2 separate regions of the Homo sapiens genome follow, and region 1 is linked to region 2. Evidence: promoter capture Hi-C in 16 types of primary human blood cells and fetal thymus (Javierre and others, 2016). All regions are on one chromosome and are shown on one strand. Each heading gives the region's core, a stretch centred on a gene start or on the middle of the fragment in contact. The rest is flanking DNA. Distances are from core to core; before and after follow the strand shown.

The links. The method cuts DNA at HindIII sites, captures the fragments that hold promoters and counts their contacts. A CHiCAGO score of 5 or more calls a contact.
Region 1: a fragment that was not itself captured here is called in contact with the fragment with the promoter of SAMSN1-AS1 in region 2 in 7 of 17 cell types (activated CD4 T cells, total CD4 T cells, neutrophils and 4 more); the score reaches 9.4 in activated CD4 T cells.

The regions. Positions count from the first base shown.
Region 1 is chr21:14,702,778-14,705,989 of GRCh38, forward strand. No RefSeq gene overlaps it. Among named protein-coding and RNA genes, the nearest start is that of SAMSN1-AS1, 120 kb to the left of the region's middle. The HindIII fragment of the contact is 1,872 bases long and covers 400-2,271 here.
Region 2 is chr21:14,580,811-14,584,043 of GRCh38, forward strand. It overlaps SAMSN1-AS1 (SAMSN1 antisense RNA 1), which reads left to right and starts at 1,392. Exons shown (of 5, transcript NR_046512.2): 1 at 1,392-1,481. It also overlaps a transcript of SAMSN1 not described here. The HindIII fragment of the contact is 2,204 bases long and covers 1-1,484 here.

The DNA.
Region 1 (3,212 bases), core at 86-2,585, 120 kb after region 2:
TTCTATTCAACCAGATGCATTTTTTCTTCTAATTATAATCAAGATGTGTCTACATGAAGTGGAAAATGTGAACAATTATTTAGATTGTTCAAAAAAAAAATAAAAGCACATTTCAACTGAAAACATGCCAGTAATTGGAGTAGAATGAAGTATTTTTGAGATGAGAATTCTTTGAATCTTACATTTGTAAATAGTTTCTCTTCATTTTAAATTTCTTATAGTTTGTGGCTTTGTGGATCTGGCTACAGACCTTTTTAAAGTCATCGGGAGGGCATTTTTGCTTACAAACATAGCAAGTTATCTATGCCTTTAAACCTCTACTCTCAGAAAAGAGAAGGTTTCTGAGAATGCATGGCAAGTATGCTTTACATACCTTGTTGGCAATGTTCACAGAAATAAAGCTTTGGTCAAAGGAACCAGTTTCTCTTTGGCATACAGATGAATGACATTCAGAGGCATCCTTTACATAAGAAGACATAAAATTTTCTGTACCTGACAATCCCCCAAATTACCGCCCTTGTGTCTCATTCCTTCAGAACCCTGTGGGGGTGATCCATTTCTTAACTTCTGGTCCTCTTATTCCACACTTCCTGGTGTTCTGTTTTAGACCAGTGTTTGCAGTGTAATATCCACCTAGTACTTGTTAGAAATATGGAGTGTTGGGTCCCATCTCAAACCTACCAAATCAAAACCTGTATTTTAATAAGATCATCAGATATTTGTGAGGACATTAGCATTTGAGAATCTTGGGATTAGATCTCAGTAAGCCATAATGTGACCGACTGTCTGCTAATTAAACCACACTCATACTGGATATTCAGCAAAGGGCCTCCTCATACTCATGTAGGTTTCTGTATTCTCGATGAGACTTGACCTCATCTTTCCCAACTCTTCATTTTCACTAAAGAGCCCAGCAATATCTTCAGTGTCTTCTCCCGACACAGGCAACTTCTTACCACAAATGCAAGGTTCTACTACAATGGTGAGAATTTTTAGACACCAGAAAGAACAGGGGCAGGAAAGGGTTTTTTGTTTGTTTGTCTGTTTGCTTTTGAGATGGAGTCTCTCTCTGTCGCCCAGGCTGGAGTGCAGTGATGCGATCTCTGCTCACTGCAACCTCCGTCTCCCAGGTTCACGCCATTCTCCTGCCTCAGCCTCCCGAGTAGCTGGGACTACAGGCGTCCACCACCATGCCCGGCTAATTTTTTGTATTTTTAGTACAGACTTGGGCTTTCACTGTGTTAGCCAGAATGGTCTCGATCTCCTGACCTCGTGATCCACCTGCCTCGACCTCCCAATGTGCTGGGATTGCAGGTGTGAGCCACCGCGCCCAGCCAGGAAAGGGTTTTTAATTTGCTCTCTAAACCATGTGATGTAGGCAGCAATTCACCCTATCCACATGTGAGGAATGTGTTGTTTATATCCACTTTCCTTATAGAGGAAATAAATTGGTCATAACTCATGGGCAATTCTCTTATATTGTAGACCAGTCTTAACAGTACTTTTCAGAATCATTTCTCTGCACAGACTTTAATGAAGACTAGCCTGCGTTTCTCCATGTTGATTCTGAAATGCTCAATAGAATTCTTCTCTAGGTTCTTAGCCCAAACATACTTTTGATGTACAGAAGACTACTAACTATTTCTACTTTATGAACATGACAAGTAATTATTTATTAAAGTAGTGAAAATAATTCTGTCAAGAACAATTCATTCTCACTTTGCCCAAGCTGAATGAATATAGATAAGTCTATGGCGGTCCCCTGCATCCTTACACCTGAATACTTCCTGAAAATATTTTCTCTCTTCTTCGTTAGGGAAAAAAATATTCAATGGACACTTTTTAAAAATGGTAAAGCCGATTTTATTCAGAGGGAGACTGTTTTGATAGGTGTAGGGCTCATTGGAATGGGCCTTTGCAATGGGGGGAGAGATTTGGCTCAACTCTAAATATAACAAGAAAAAGTGGGAATTTATAGCCAAAGATTAAGATGGAGGCCAGTACATAGAAAATTACTGAAAGAAAACATAAGGGTAAAGAGGAAGTTCTGGCTAAACCAACCACACAGGATCCTTCCTGAAGACAGGCTAGGATGTTCAGACACCACCTTGGGGAGGGTGAAGGATAAAGAATTTGATCAGAAATCAAGGGTGGTGAGATACATGTTAAGGATGAATAAACTGGCCTTTTAGGATTCTTGCTAAAGTTAGACAATGCAGAGGCAACCACAGAGTCCAAGAGTTAAGGCCTAGTTGAAAAAGAGTTGAGAGAAGCTTGAGTAATGTTTGAACGAGGAGATAATCTCTGTTATTTCTCCCTCTCCATTGTCATAGTCTGAGTTGTAATATAGACTATTACAATAGTCTCCTCATTGGTCACTCAGACTCTGGTTATAGTCTTTCTTCACTCATCACACTGTCGAAAATATACATCTAACTATGTCATACTCTATTCAGAATTATTCAATGTCTCTCACATTGTCCCCACAATGATACACAGGCTCCTCCTTAGGAAGCCATGCAAGGGTTTGCTTGGTGAGGTCATTGCCTTCTTGCTCAGTCTCATAGTCCCTTCCTAGTCTTTCTCCAGAAATAAGTTACTTTATAAGCTCTACTATGCCTTGATTCTTTTGTCTAGGATATTCTCAAACTTTCCTGCCTTTAAATACTACTCATTCATTAAGTTTCAATTCAAACATTGCTTCTGTGAAGTTATTCTTAGTGTACTCCAGAAAAGTTAAATTATCTTCCTACATTTCTGTTGGACTTTACATATCCCTTTACTATAGCATATATTTTTGTAACTGTCAATGAACTAGACTTTCAATATTCTGAGGGCAACAAAAAATGTTTTCCCCTTAATTCCAATTTTCTGGCAAAAGGGAGAATATAAAAGTTCAATAAATATTACAGATTGACTGAATAAAATGCATTTAGGTAATAATTCATTTGGATGAAGATAATAGATTCTTAGAGATTGGGAAATGGGAATTGAAATACCAAATTTCTATCTACAAATATGTATTCAACAAGTATATACAGTGGCACATAGAGAACTCTACACTTGATGCTGGATAGGACATATAAATTCATTCAACACGTACTTATTTAGCGTTTACTTCACATCAGCACTATTCTGGGTATTTCAGAAACATTGCTGAAAGATATAATTTCTATCCTAAATGACTGCATGGAATTGAACTCAAGACTTCG
Region 2 (3,233 bases), core at 142-2,641:
GACTGATTCTTTGAGGAAAATGGTAGAGAGTAGGCTCCCTGGATACACAGAATTGTCCCATTCATTCACTGAAAACACACATGACCAGAGGAGCTGTAGGTAAAGTTATAAAACATGCCTTGAGCAATTTACAAGGAAATTGAAAAAAAAGTACCACTCTTAAGTACTAGAAGATTTATAATATTTGACTTTAGCTTCTTGACTATTTCCATTTTTTAGTTAAGAAAGTTAAGATTAAAAGGTTTAAATAACTTATCCAAGCCCAAAAAAAAAGTAGCACAGCCAGAATCCATCCAAATTTGTTTGACTCCAGAGAGCATACTCTTTCTCACGTATCACATAATAGCCTTAGAGTCTGCCCTCGTATATGGAAAACACTCTAATGTAGTAGCTAAAAGCAGGAGCTCTAGCTAAAAGCAAGACCTAGGTTATAGGTCTTGGCTCTACCTCCTGTTAGCTGTCTGACTTTGCACCTGTTACCAACTTTTTGTGCCTCCATTTTCTCAACTGTAAAATGAGGGGAAATAATATTTCTTTTTTTTTTTTTTTTTTTTTTTTTTTTTTTTGAGGACGAGTCTTGCTCAGTCGCCCAGGCTGGAGGGCAGTGGCGCGATCTCGGCTCACTGCAAGCTCCACCTCCTGGGTTCACGCCATTCTTCCGCCTCAGCCTCCCGAGTAGCTGGAACTACAGGTGCCCGCCACCACGCCCGGCTAATTTTTTTGTATTTTTAGTAGAGACGGGGTTTCACCTTGTTAGCCAGGATGGTCTCGATCTCCTGACCTCATGATCCTCCCGCCTCGGCCTCCCAAAAGTGCTGGGATTACAGGCATGAGCCACCGTGCCTGGCCAAAAATAATATTTCTTAAGGTAATATTTCATAATGTAAGTCCTTACCTTATAGAGTTGATGTGAGATTTAAATGAGATAATACATATAAAATGCTTAGGAAAATGGCAGGCCCAAATAAAATGCTCATTAAAATTAGCTATTATTTTTCAGTGAAATTTCATTATAATTGCAATAATTTAGACAGTTCACTTCACATTTTCTTGATCTCAGTCAACACACGAAGTCTTCCTTCAATCAAAAAGAAATCCCTGGAAAAATTTTATGCAGTCATTAATTTGTACACAAAGGAATATATGAAATGTTAATATGGGTAAAAGTCACAAGAGTTTGGTTGCTTTTTGGAAAGACAACTCTTGCTCTGGTAACTTTTCTGAAACTGATAAATTTCACTGATTAGCACTTTTGCTATCTGTTTCTTTCCCGACAGTACAAAACCCCAGATAAGATGACACATTTCCGTAGTCTGCAAACTTACCCATGAATGTAGGAGATCCATATCTGAGCAGGAAGACTTGAGACGTGTGTGGCGAATACAAGAGGAGCAGTGGTCCCAGGGTCCAACTTGTGCTATTTGGAAATCAAGACATGTCCAGAGAGGGTTTTCAGGAAAAGGCTTCCAGTGATGCCACATGTAAGCTTCACCTTCATACCAAGCTAATTTATCTTCCAAGTTGCAGTTATTTAAAGTGCTGGATCTACCCAGTGATGCAGAAAGAGTATCCAATCTAATCTCCATTTCTTCCTTCCTCCTCGTGCTAACACTATTCACTTTCTTTTCTCGGGACTTGGTTAATTTCAAACAAGAAATCAACGTGTCATCTTCATCTTCTGAATGACAAAGAAATAGGTTAAAAACTATGATTATAATTCTTCACATATAGGAATTATTCTTCCATTTATATAAGAGAAATAAATACACTGCAATGGATAAACCAAGAAGTCATTCAATTTTATAAAATTATTTACAGCAGCATTTATTTAAAAAGCAAGTTATTTTGCTATATAAAATTTTTTGTTTTGTAAAAGTCGCATTTTTCTGACATTTTTGAAACCATAACAATTGATTAAATTCTATCTCACTGGAAAGAATGGAGGCCACATACAAATAATATGCTGAAAGATATTTGAGAAAAAAATACAATTAAAAAACCCACCTCTTATGTTTCTATTCTTAAATATTTTTTTAATTTTTAAGGTCATGTGTATAATAAAGAATTATAAGGAAATAAATAAAATTATTTGCCCTACTTAAAAGAATAAAATCTCAGTGGTTTGGACTGAAATCCTACTGACATTCTGAAATTGTCTATTTTAATATCAATCTACCAAGAGATGTATGGATGCAGTGTGTCTCACAGTGAAATGGTTTTCAAAAAACAAGAACGACAAAAATTTAAAAAAGCCATATCTGTAATACCATAAAGTTCATTTGTGAGATCTATATTTACACAATGTGGCAAAGACTCTGATGAAATTTCTAGTAATGTAGAAAACAGTTACAGAAAATAGAAATATATATCACCCAGAGTCAATTGCTCTATGTCATGGAATCCCTTTAAATCCAAACGTTTAATGGGTATTTTTAAAAGAGTTCGATTACTTAAGGCATGCTATTATAAATAAATAAATGAAAATCAAAGTTGCATGCCATGGACATACCAATTTGTTATGCTTACATCAAAATTCAAATACATTGTTTTCTATGGCCAAGGAATGGCGACAGTGGACACTGCTGAGCTTCCTCCATTGCTCTCTCTCACTGTGTCTCGGAGCCCGGTCTTGAAGGCAAGGAGAAACGGGGCGGTGCATAAATACGGGGTAAAATTCAGGAACAGATGGGGATGTCTGTTTTAAAATAACTTGGCAATAAAAAAAAATCCTCAATGTTTAATGATTATCTTAAGACTTTATCAAAATGGGCTTCATTAACGTATGCTTCCTTAGTTCTCCCTCAAAGGAGTTTTAACAGCTTATTGAGTTCTTACTTACGGAGGTTTATTAATGTCGGTTTCACCTCATCCAGATTCTGCACTCTGGCTTTCTTAGTCCAAACCAGTTTCTGTAGTCGCTTTAATGTCCCCATTGATTCCACAGGGTCACTGCCTGATTTTATGGCCTAGCACAAACACAGCTCAAGGTAAAGACAAATTATTCCTCACAAAAGATTAAATATAAAATATGTTGAGATCATAAATGTGGAAAAATTAATAATGTGACCTTAAAACCTGAAGCCTGAGTCAATTTAAGCACTAACTTGAAAGCACACCATACTTTTTGGGTTCAAAATTATAAAATATGTTACAACTGGCCAGGCATACTAAAGCAGAGTGGTTTTACCATTTTTTTTTTTTACTTCAAAATACAGCAAAATGGATTGAATTCA